Linked DNA regions of Homo sapiens: regions 2, 3 and 4 are each linked to region 1. The links are contacts of gene promoters, found by promoter capture Hi-C in blood cells and fetal thymus (Javierre and others, 2016). All regions are on one chromosome and are shown on one strand. The core of a region is centred on a gene start or on the middle of the fragment in contact, and the rest is flanking DNA. Distances in the headings are between cores, read along the strand shown.

Evidence for each region. The method cuts DNA at HindIII sites, captures the fragments that hold promoters and counts their contacts. A CHiCAGO score of 5 or more calls a contact.
Region 2: a fragment that was not itself captured here is called in contact with the fragment with the promoter of SPR in region 1 in 1 of 17 cell types (endothelial precursors); the score reaches 5.1 in endothelial precursors.
Region 3: a contact is called between a fragment that was not itself captured here and the fragment with the promoter of SPR in region 1, in 9 of 17 cell types (endothelial precursors, megakaryocytes, monocytes and 6 more). The highest score is 11.2, in endothelial precursors.
Region 4: a contact is called between a fragment that was not itself captured here and the fragment with the promoter of SPR in region 1, in 4 of 17 cell types (fetal thymus, endothelial precursors, megakaryocytes and 1 more). The highest score is 9.8, in fetal thymus.

The regions. Positions count from the first base shown.
Region 1 is chr2:72,886,049-72,888,899 of GRCh38, reverse strand. It overlaps SPR (sepiapterin reductase), which reads right to left and starts at 1,492. Exons shown (of 3, transcript NM_003124.5): 1 at 1,164-1,492; 2 at 296-586. The coding sequence starts at 1,467. RefSeq lists silencers at 438-612, 1,251-1,640. The HindIII fragment of the contact is 9,789 bases long and covers 1-1,922 here.
Region 2 is chr2:73,237,277-73,240,127 of GRCh38, reverse strand. CCT7 (chaperonin containing TCP1 subunit 7) reads right to left here. Exons shown (of 12, transcript NM_006429.4): 2 at 332-485. Among named protein-coding and RNA genes, the nearest start is that of CCT7, 4.4 kb to the right of the region's middle. The HindIII fragment of the contact is 760 bases long and covers 1,130-1,889 here.
Region 3 is chr2:73,210,193-73,213,043 of GRCh38, reverse strand. NOTO (notochord homeobox) reads right to left here. Exons shown (of 3, transcript NM_001134462.2): 3 at 531-2,273. The coding sequence ends at 2,115. Among named protein-coding and RNA genes, the nearest start is that of SMYD5, 2.6 kb to the left of the region's middle. RefSeq lists a silencer at 266-335. The HindIII fragment of the contact is 2,592 bases long and covers 175-2,766 here.
Region 4 is chr2:73,188,392-73,191,242 of GRCh38, reverse strand. No RefSeq gene overlaps it. Among named protein-coding and RNA genes, the nearest start is that of NOTO, 13 kb to the left of the region's middle. The HindIII fragment of the contact is 4,620 bases long and covers 1-2,851 here.

The DNA.
Region 1 (2,851 bases), core at 243-2,742:
CATGAGGAAGGCCTGGAACTCAAACCCCAGTCTTCTCCCAAACTCCATCTAATACCTCAGACCTTCCTGCCCCACCCTCCAGTCCAGGAAACTCCTCACTCTCTACCAGTATCCCCGGCCCCTGCCACCTCTATTTCCCCTGGGTCTGTATTTCCCCTAAGGGGTGATGGGTCAAGATTCAAGGACAAAATCCTGTGGGTTGTTTCCTGGAGGGGGCGGACTAGGCCGCTTGCCCAGCCCCCAGAGGCGCACCAGTGGGTTCTGGAGGACAGGGACGGCAGGACTTCCCACCTACCTGGGGCATAGTTCAGCACCCTCACATTAGGTTCCTCCAGCGCCAGGACCTGGAACAGCATATCACGAGCAGCCTTTCCTGCACAGTACAGCGCCCAGCCTTTGAAAGGTTGCAGGGCACAGAGGGACGAGATGTTAACCACGGTTCTGTTGAGGCCAGGACTGTCCGGGAAGGCCTTCAGGACGCTGGAAGTCAGGCAGAGCATGGAGGTCAAGTTCAGTGCCCAGTAGTTGTTCACTTGAGTGGAGTCACTCAGGTCCACGAAGCCTTTGGACACATCCCCAAGAGAGCCTGAAAAACCAACCCTTAGGAGTAACTCAGTGCAGGCGGGGCTTTCTTCTTCCCCAGCCCTCCCAAGTTCCTCCAGATATCCTCTTCCCATGCAGACCTAGAGGAGGAAGCTGCCTAGCGCTTCTGAAGAGGCTTCTCTCTTCCCCAGCTCTGCGGAAAGACACAGCTGGGGAACCTAGCCATCCCAAGCTGCAGAATGAGAAGGCACCTGCCTTGCCGTGGGGCTGAAGGAAAGCTCTAGCGGTCCTTTGGAGAAGCAGAGAGTTTACTTGTTTGGAGACTCCAAGCCCTGACTCAGGCCTCCGCCAGAGGGCGCAGAGCAAGGGGCTCGGGAAAGTTCTACAGGCGCTTTGGAAAACCCGGCTGGCCAATTTTCCAGGAAGTGGGGGCAGACTGTTGTCCCGACGGCACCGAGTCTTCCTGTACACCTCGCCTCCACTTGCTACTCAAGCTGGAACAACTAGGGCTTTAGATTTCTAGGCGTCCTATCTGACCCCTAGGAGTAGCCCTTAAATTCCCCAGCGGTGGAGGAAGTGGGCGCTCACATGGGGAGTCCGCTCCAGCCCCGGGGTCTTACCCGCGTTGTTGATAAGCAGCAGTCGCTGCAGCCCCTTGGGCCGGGGGAGCTCGCGCAGGGCGCCGAGCAGCTGCTGCAAGCCGGCCTCGGCGCCCAGGTCGGCGGGCACCCGCACCACGCGCAGGCCAGACCGCTCGGCGCCCAGCTCGGCCTCCAGCTGGCGCAGTGCCTCGTCGTTGCGGGCGCTAAGGACAAGCACGGAGCCGGGCGACAGCAGCGAGGCCAGGAGCGGGGCCAGCGTCCGGCCGAAGCCGCGGGAGGCCCCGGTCAGCAAGCACACAGCACGCCCCAGCCCGCCCTCCATGCTCCTGTTCTCCGCCGGCGGCGCTGGCACCCGAGACCAGGCAGGAGGCGGTGCGGCCGCGGGGGGCGGGACCGCTACGGGTGTCGGCGGGGCCGCCCTGCCGGGGCGGGGCGGGAACCTCAGGCTTCGGGCCGCGAGCGCCCAGGGGTGCTGGTTCCCTTGGGATCTGGTTCCCTTGGTTGCTGGTGGCGGAAGTCAAACCGTGGCGGTAGCCCAGTCCGTGCCAAGTGGGACAACAGAGAGGGCCGGCAGGCGCGGCCCACACGGAAAGCCCTAGCCCGGTTCCCAGCGCTGCCGTGTTCTTCGCCCGCAAGCTCAGCCTCCGGCTGGGACGCATGCTCGAATTTCCTCCCAGTTCCAGCCCTAACTTTGCACTACTGACCTCTTCCAGGGCAGGCCCTGCACTGGGTGCTGGGCGTCCCTGGTCGTGGCCAGTGAACACCCTGAATGAAGCTTATGCCTGTTTAGGAATTGAAGTCTCTGCTTGTTTGGGAGCTCACCGCTCTCTGGATGACAGGAGCTTCCTCTGGGAGAACCACAGTGGCTCCAAATGATATTAAAACCTTTCCCTTTTACTAGGCCCTGAGCAGCTCCGTGATCCCACCAGTAACCCCTGCTTCTCTGAGATTTCTGACTCCTGTCCCTAAAAGTGTGTTCCCCAGGATTCTGCTCCTGCTCATGCTACAGTCTCCCTGGCAGCAATTCCATCCACTTTCAGCTTCAAGTTTGCGCAATCATCTGTCTGTACCTCCAGGCAGGTGCTTCAGAAAAATCCACATTTTTTTTTTTCTAGGAGAGGAGGAACGTGAGACAAGTTGGCATGCAGCTACATATATTAAAAAGGAATCTCTTCATGGTTTCCTTCTTAGTGGCCGAGTGGTATTCCATTGTGTATATACATATGTCCAAATATTGTGTGTCAGTTTTTAAAAAACGAATCTCTTTAGAGTTTAGCAAGGGCAGTAAGTAACCTCTGATAACTTAGCCCAATTCCCCACAGGGCTGATCCCTCCCCTGGGGCTAAACAGCAAAGTTACCGCCTTTCCACTATTATTGCCAACTCTAAGGAAGAAACAACTTGGAGGAAGGCTTTTTTCTTTTCTTTTTTCTTTTTTTTGACAGAGTCTCGCTCTGTGGCCCAAACTGAAGTGCAGAGGTGTGATCACAGTTTACTGCAGCCTTGAATTCTTGGGCTCAAGCAATCCTTCCACCTCAGGCTCCTGAGTAGCTAGGATTACAGGTGCGCACCACCACGCCTGGCTAATTGTTTTTTAAGCTTTTGGTATTTTAACGCTGATAAGACTCTGTATATGTGTATACCATTTGAAGTTGCCCTGCTTTTCACTTACCTATTCACACTGAAGATAAAGATCTCATTGGCCCA
Region 2 (2,851 bases), core at 260-2,759, 350 kb before region 1:
ACACATCAATTAATATACCAAGATATAAACAGGAATTTTCTCATCTTGATAACAATGGAAGTGAACACAGGAAACTCCAGATGGTTCTATTTCATGTTTCTAGGCCACGTCTCCCTATGAGGCAACAGGCTCCTGAGCCTAGGTTCTCTCATATAGTCCCACACGGGCTCAGCAGTCAGGACAATATAAGAATTGGAACTGCTTCAGAGTGAGTCATCTTTCAACGATCTTAAAAGCAGTGGGATTTCTGATACCAACCTATGCTAGTCCCAAACACCCCCTCAGGAGCCTCCTTTCCTGCACACAGGCCTGAGGAACTCTGTAGACTTACCTCTGCCATCTACAATAAGCTTGTCCATGCCACGGGGACCCAGGGTAGTTCTTACAGCCTCAGCAATCACCTGGCAGGCACTGATGTTACTCACAAGCTGGGGGATGCCTTGGGAGCTATCAGTCCCCTCTTTCAATAGGATAACTGGTGTGGGCTAGAAAAGAAAGAAATTAACTGCTTTTAATAATCATCTATTATAATGAGACTGGCAGGGGAAAGGGGAAAATGCTCCCATCTCTCCCTTAACAGAATTATCTAGAGGTCTTCTTAAACCACATTCCCCCAACTGTCTACCACATCCATTCCCCAACCAGCCTCTACCTCCAGAGACACTATCAAATTTAGCCTACCCTGCAGGTATGCTAGACAGGAAAATGGTTTGAGAAGCACTGACCTAATCTAAAAGAAAAAATCATGAGTTCTCCAGTACCCAGCTGAATGACCATGGCCTTTTCAACTTCTGACCTTACTCCCTGTGCTGAGGAATTGGGTCACAACACAGGAGGAAGAGGCAGACCCTGCTAAGTGTTCATTCCGCAGCAAAACATCCACTTGTCTGTGTTACAGCTCAATCTTAGAGAAGCAGATGGGACACTGATGCAAAATGCAAGATGCCAAGAGCTTGAGGTGTTGTCCTAGAGATGCCTAGGCAGTCAGCTTTATGTAACAGTGATGTTCAGCTGCAGTGTAGGAAAACAGGCAGAGAAACAAACAGCACCTTTGCCCTGTTTTGAAAAATGATGGCAAATCTAATTCATACAGCAATGTTTCCATCTCTCATGCTGGCTGAATAAAGCTTCTGTGTGACTAATTTCCAATCAGATACCCCAAAGAAGTTTTCCTCTTTCTATATTGCATTGGTCTCCAGAACATTCCCTATCCCCGTAAGGGCTTCATTTGCAGACCTGCTTTAGAAACTGAGAAACAGGGATACTTGCTTGTTTTAAAGGGCCCGCTCAGATATCTTTGCTCTAGTGACCACCATTATTAGCAGAGAGAGCAATTTCTCAGCTTAGCAAACCAGACTACTTTCTCTCCACATTCAAATCTGAGCCTTCAGAGATAAGCCCACGAACTAGATCCAGTCTTCTCAAGTGTTTCTGGCTAATTTTGTGTGTGACACAGAATGTAGTAAGGATAAATACTATTTCAAAACTTTTATTGTGTTAAATTTGTTACTAGGCTATGATTAAAAATGTATTTCTTACTGTGGAATGCAATAAAAAGTTTGAAAGCCATCACCTAGTCCTTAGAGGTACGTGGATGTCTGAGCAAGGAAGGCACAGGAAAGCACAGAGCTTTCCCAACCTAACAATGAGGAGTGAGGAATTCCTGCCAAAGACAGAGTCTTGCCACTCATGAGGCTGATTCCTTATTAACTGGTCAATTCCTTAAAAAGTTCAACTCTTTTGGCCAGCGCAGCTGGAGGGTAGTAAGCAAGAGGAAGACTGGAATAAAGCTGAAGAGGCAGGCAGGAACCAGATCACATACACACTCGTAGACACACTATGGTGAGGAGTTCAGATTTCATTCCTAAAAAGGAAAGCCCTGGGAAGCTTTCAGCAGAGGAATGGCATACTGTGATTTACATAAAAAACAAAAACCACTGTAGAAAAAAGAGGATCACTTGAGCTCATGGAGTTCAAGACCAGCCTGGGGAACATGGCAAGACCCTGTCTCTACAAAAAGAAAACGAAAAATACCCAATAAACTCTACGGAATAAGAGAGTGGGAGTAATTTAATATATTATTCATTTTTTAATATATATTTCTAAGAGACAGGGTCTTGCTCCACCACCCATGCTGGAGTGCAGTGGTGAGATCATAGCTTACTATAAGCTCAAGCCTCCTGAGTAGCTGGACCGCAATGCATGAGGTACCACACCTGGCTAATTTTTTAAATTTGTATTTAAAAAATGTTGCCCAGGCTGGTCTCCAACTCCTGGCCTCTAACAACCCTCCTGCCTCAGCCTTCTGAAGTGCTAGGATTACAGGCATGAGGCACCATGCCAGGCCCTCATTAAATTTTTTTAAATGCTTGTCAAATAATCATACATTACTCCTTTTATTTTTTATTTTAAAAAGAATGCTTGTCATGTAAACCCCTACATTTGGGATCAGGCGTCAACTGAAGGGAAAATTCCTTCCTTTTGCTGGAGTGTCCCAGGTCTGGTGGCAAGAAATGGCTTCTCTATACTCCCAGCATTCTTTCTGGCTCTTCAGCTGGCCCAGTCCCTGGCACCTTCTGTAAGGGAAAGATGTGTGTCCTGAAAGGCCCTACCATCTCCCAGTCTTGCTAAATCATTCCTTATGGCAGCCCCAAGTCTTCTCTGGTCCACCCCTGCCACGGATGGAGTCTTACACTTTAAATCAAAAACTAACATGAGTCTCAATCACTTCCTATCACCTTCAACAGGTTCTTTCACCTCAACAGGTTAACTTACCCAATGCTTGTGTATACTTTTTCTCACCTCAACCTGCAAAGTGTACCCCCATCTAAAATAGTCACTCTGCCATCTT
Region 3 (2,851 bases), core at 221-2,720, 320 kb before region 1:
TAGAAAAATTTGCCGGGCGTGGTGATGCGTGGGAGGATCACCTGAACCTGGGGAGGTCTAGACTGCAATGAGCCGTGATCAAGCCACAATTATCTATCAAATAATTATAGATAGATAGATAGTTGGCAGGGACAGAGAAAGGTTCTTGAAACTGACCCTGCCTCTCCTCAAGCTTGCAACCTGGTGTCAAGGAGCGAATAGTCCACGGACTTGGGGGAGATAGATAGTTGGCAGGGCCAGAGAAGAGGCTCTTGAAACCGACCCTGGGTCCCCTCAAGCCTGCAGCCCGGTGTCAGGGAGCGAATAGTCCACGTACTTGGGGGCAAACCTACCCGAGAGCAGCTGGGGGCCGTGCCCTCACTCACCACCAGGTGGCAGGGCAGGCTTCCTTCCATCCCTCAGCTCAGTCCCCAAGAGCCATTCTAGAATCTGAATGGTCTGTGCTACAGAAATCAGCTCTGCAAATCCTGGCAGCAGGCTTCTTTCAGAGAAATCGAGCACATTCTTGAGAAGAAAAAGGAGCCATGAGTCAGAGTCATGAAAGGGGGAAATTATAACTGTCCTGTGAAAACACAGCAGAGTTTATGACAAAATGCCAGCCTTGGCATACACAAATTATTCTATAAAAAGATGGGGCTTTGGGAGGCCAAGGCAGGAGAACCACTTGAAGCCTGGAATTCAAGACCAGCCTGGGCAACAAGTGGACGTTGTCTCTACAAAAAATGTTAAAAATTAGCCAGGCGTGGTGTCACGCGCCTGTAGTCCCAGCTGCTTAGGAGGCTAAGGTGGGAGGATCACTAGAGCCCAGGAGGTTGAGGCTGCCGTGAGCTATGATTGCACCACTGCACTCCAGTCTGGGTGACAGAGCGAGTCCTTGTCTTTGCTGCTGGGCCTGAGCTTCTTCTGAGAATGGTAACAGTTCAGACAAAACAAGAAAACGTTGGGAAACTTTGTGAAGTGGGCTAAACAGTCTACCTTCTCTTCTTTGCTCTCAACTCCTTCTGATGGTGAAGAGTCTTCTATGCCCAGATGCTTATTCAAAGAGGTTCCTTCTCCACAGCCAGGCCAGGAAAATATTAATTGCTGGTACAGGTATTACTCCCCCAGGTGAGGGGAGCTGTGATATTATGAAATATATATTTGGTCTTCATCTCGATTTCCTGGCATAGAACTCCTAAAATCCCTAGAATCTCTGAAGTGATGTCTTTTCATATGCTAATGAGTTGACTGATGACTGGTAGACCTTAAGACTCCATAAAAAACAAAAAGGGCAGGGTTGGGCCGGGTGGTGGCTCACACATGTAATCCCAGCACTTTGGGAGGCCGAGGTGGGTGGATCACAAGGTCAGCAGTTCAAGACCAGCCTGACCATATGATGAAACCCCGTCTCTACTAAAAATATAAAAATTAGCCAGGCATGGTGGCATGCGCCTATAGTCCCAGCTGCTCGGGAGGCTGAGGCAGGAGAATCGCTTGAACCCGGGAGGCGGAGGTGGCGGTGAGCCAAGATCGCGCCACTGCAGTCTGTCTCAAAAAAAAAAGAAAGGAGGGGCTGCCATGTGGAATGAGCCCTGAATCTGTGGGGTCAGACACTACCTGCAGGTAGATCATGTCAGAATTTGCTGAACTGGAGGTTGGAATGTGGGGTACACCCCTATACGTTTGGTCACAGAAGTGTTCTGTGTTGATTGTTGTGGGGTGACAGCAGAAGAAAAAAACTTTTTTTTTTCCAGTTGGTCTTCTCTACTCAGGGGCCTACAAGCCTTAACAGTAACCACACACTTTGCACTGTGCATGGCACATTATTGCTTTACAGACATCTTCTCACCCCTGGGTGATCTAAGTTATGAATGCACCCATTATACAGATAAAGAAAAAAGGCTCGGAAGTTCCATAGGTTGGCCAAGGACATAGCTGAAGGCCAGAGTCTGTGCCTCCAATCATTACATTATTCCAGTTTCCAGGAATCAGTATAGAAAAGGGGGTCCCTGCTTGACAGCTCAGATTCTTCTGGTTGAGGAGGCTTTTCGTTGAGGTGTGAGGCAGGGAGCTCCAGTGGGTACCCCCAGGAGGAACTAGTCCAGGCAGCCTGGCTAGGGCCTCTGTCCCAGTCTTCAGCCGTCCACTCCTGACTCGGCATCATCACTCTGGATACTGGCGATGGAGCTGCTGGAAGGCTCATCCAGGGAGGCAGCCTCGGCAGATGTAACTGCTGCCCTCAGCTTTTGCTGCTTCTGATACTTGACCCTGCGGTTCTGGAACCAGACTCTCACCTATAATTGGAGAGTGGGCAGAGATCAGAATGTGACCATCAGGTCCCACTGCTTCCTAATTCCTGGAGTGAACACCCCTCTCTGCCTGGCCAATATTTGCTCTTCCTTCTCAGGGAGGTACCTCCTCCAAAACACCCCTTTCTACAATTCCAGACACCATTCATTCATCTGAGTATTTACTGAGTTTCCAGTATGTGCTAAGCACCATCCTAGGTGATGCTGATACAGTGGTGAGCAACAGAGGCAAGCTGCCTGCCCTCGTGGAGCTCATGAGCTAGTGAAGAAACACTGGCAAGAAACATGTAAACAAACAAAGAGCTATGTAAACACAAAAGGGGGTACAAACAGGGGTTTGGGCAGAGGAGGCCTCCCTAAGGAGCCAGCATTAAAGCTGAGGCTCAAAGAGAGAGAGGCCCACCTGATGGGGACAGAGAAGAGCAGGTCTGCAGGGCAGGGAACAACCTGTAGGAAGGCTCTGAAATGGAACCAAGCTTGGAGTGTTTGAGGACCAGGAAGGAGGAGAGCACGGATGACAGTGAGAGGAGAAAGTCAAGGGAGGGAAATGGGAGAGGTCAGCG
Region 4 (2,851 bases), core at 130-2,629, 300 kb before region 1:
AGATAAAGTAATAACTTCATAGGTCCAGGAGGGCTCTGTGGAGGACACTTTCCTCTGCAGAGGCATCTGAAGAGAGGGAAGTCTATCAAGGGATGAGAGTGGGTGAGATCACACGGAGAGAAAATGCTGTAGTAAAAGAGAAAGGGGCTTGTATGGATCCCTTGGGGACTGCTATGTTTAGGGACAGCAAGGACAGAAGAAGAAGGATTAGTCAGAGAGGAAGGTTGACAGCCAGGGCAAATAACCCTTGTGCAGTGAGATAAGTATGTTTTCTATTCACTTGGAGCACTTTATACAGCTGGTTGGGACTTTAGCAGCAAACTAGTCAAAGCCCTTTCTTTCTTTCCTTCCTTCCTTCCTTCTTTCTTTCGTTCTTTTTTTTCCTTCCTTCCTTCCTTCCTTCCTTCCTTCCTTCCTTCCTTCCTTCCCTCCCTCCTGCTCTCCTTCTCTCTTTCTCTCTTTCTTTCTCAGAGTCTCGCTCTGTTACCAGGCTGGAGTGCAGTGGTGCAATCTGGGCTCACTGCAACCTCTGCCTCCCGGGTTCAAGCGATACTCCTGCCTCAGCCTCCCGAGTAGCTGGGACTACAGGTGCGTGCCACCACACCTGGCTCTTTTTTTGTATTTTTAGTAGAGACAGGGTTTCACCATGTTGGCCAGCATGGTCTCGAACTTCAGACCTCATGATCCGCCTGCCTTGGCCTCCCAAAGTGCTGGGATTACAGGCGTGAGCCACCATGCCCGGCCTTTTTTTTTGTTTTTTGTTTTTTTTTTTGAGATGGAGTCTCACTCCATCACCCAGGCTGGAGTGCAGTGGCACGACCTTGGCTCACTGCAACCTCTGCCTCCCAGGTTCAAACAACTCTCCTGCCTTGGCCTCCCAAGTAGCTGGGACTACAGGCACCCACCATCAGACCTGGCTAATTTTTGCTTTTTTAGTAGAGACGGGATTTCACCATGTTGGCCAAGCTGGCCTCAAACTACTAACCTCAGGTAATCCACTCACCTCAGCCTCCCAAAGTGCTGGGATTACAGGTGTGAGCCACCGCCCCAGCCCTGGCTCATTTTTTATGTTTTTTTTTTTTGTTTTTTTGCAGAGATGGGCTTTTGCTATGTTGCTCAGGCTGGTCACGAATTCCTGGCCTCAAGCAATCTTCTTACCTAGCCTCCCAAAGTGTTGGGATTTTTGATATGAGCCACTGTGTGCCTGCCCTGACAGCCCTTTCTTGTACTGAAAAGGGAAGACATTGAAGACCCACTAAGTGTGGAGTGACTTGCCCAAGAGAAAACTCAGTTCAGGACTGTGAACTTCCAGCTCACTCTGCACACCCCTGTGACAACCCAAGACCCACTTCAGTGCCGTATTCATCTTTTTATCCGCTAGTCACACCTTCCACGGTGCTTAGCACATATTGGTTGAGTTGAATTCTCTCTCTCCCCTATCATTCTAGTTTCTGAAAAAAGGGAAAAGAAAGAGGGATGGTCCTCCAGTGAACCCCTGTTATAGCATAAGCACATTGCAAGGGGCACACCTGTGCATTCTTTTTGATTCCCACAATCATACTGTTATCCCCATTTTACAGATGAGGAAACTGGATCTTGGGCAGTAATGTGATTTCTTTTACAACTAGTGACCTGCCAGAATTCAAACCCATTAGGTTGGTGCACAAGTGATTGCAGTTTTTGCTATTGAAACTAATGGTAAAAACCACAATTACTTTTTTTTTTTGAGACTGAGTCTCTGTCACTCAGGCTTGAGTGCAGTGGCCCAGTCTCAGCTCACTGCAACCTCTGCCTCTTGAGTTCAAGCAATTTTCCTGCCTCAGCCTCTTGAGTAGCTGGGATTATAGACGCGTGCCACCACACCTGGCTTTTTTGTATTTCTAGTAGAGACAGGGTTTCACCATGTTTGCCAGGGTGGTCTCGAACTCCTGACCTCAGGTGATCCGCCTGCTTTGGCCTCCCAAAGTCCTGGGATTACAGAAAGGAGCCACCACGTCCGGTCTAACCACAGTTACTTTTGCACCAACCTAATAGTTCTGTTGACTCAAATCATACGATGAGAGTGTTTATTTAATGGTTGAAATGGAATTGAATTGATTTTTCTTCTGTGCTCATAGCCCTTAGAGAGGAGGGAGGATTTTTTTTCTTTTGTGGGTAAGCAGGAGATGGAGTTATAGAAGGAGAGTGAGTGAGTGAGAGAGAGAGACAGAATCCTTTTAAGGGCCCTTTTTTTTTCTTTCTGTCTTTCTTTCTTTTTGAAACAGAATCTTGCTTTGTCGCCCAGGCTGGAGTACAATGGCACCATCCTGGCTTGCTGTAACCTCCACGTCGCAGGTTCAAGCGATTCTCCTGCCTCAGCCTCCTGAGTAGCTGGGATTACAGGTGCCGCCACCAAGCCCAGCTAATTTTTGTATTTTTAGTAGGGGCAGAGTTTCGCCATGTTGGCCAGGCTGGTCTTGAACCTGGGACCTCAAATGATCTGCTCTCCTCAGCCTACCAAAGTGCTGGGATTACAGCACTGCACCCAGTGGGGGCCAATTAATTTTAACTACTCATAACTGACCAAACTTCCAATACCCATAGGAGAGGCAAACAAAGGTATGAGTTCTTCTTTAAAAATCACCACCTATCTTACACCTTAGCTCCTTTTTCAGCATTTTCACCATTTGAACCTGATCTGAGGGGCATTGTTGAAATGGACAGACACAAAGAGAGTTGGGTTGTGTTGTGTGTGTGACCTCTCCAAGTGCCATAAATAGATGGAGTCAGAGAGGGGAGAGGATGCAAGAACCACCTAGAAATAAGTTTCTGTGCTCAGGAAAAACAGGCGGTGGTGGTTGTGGTGGTGGTG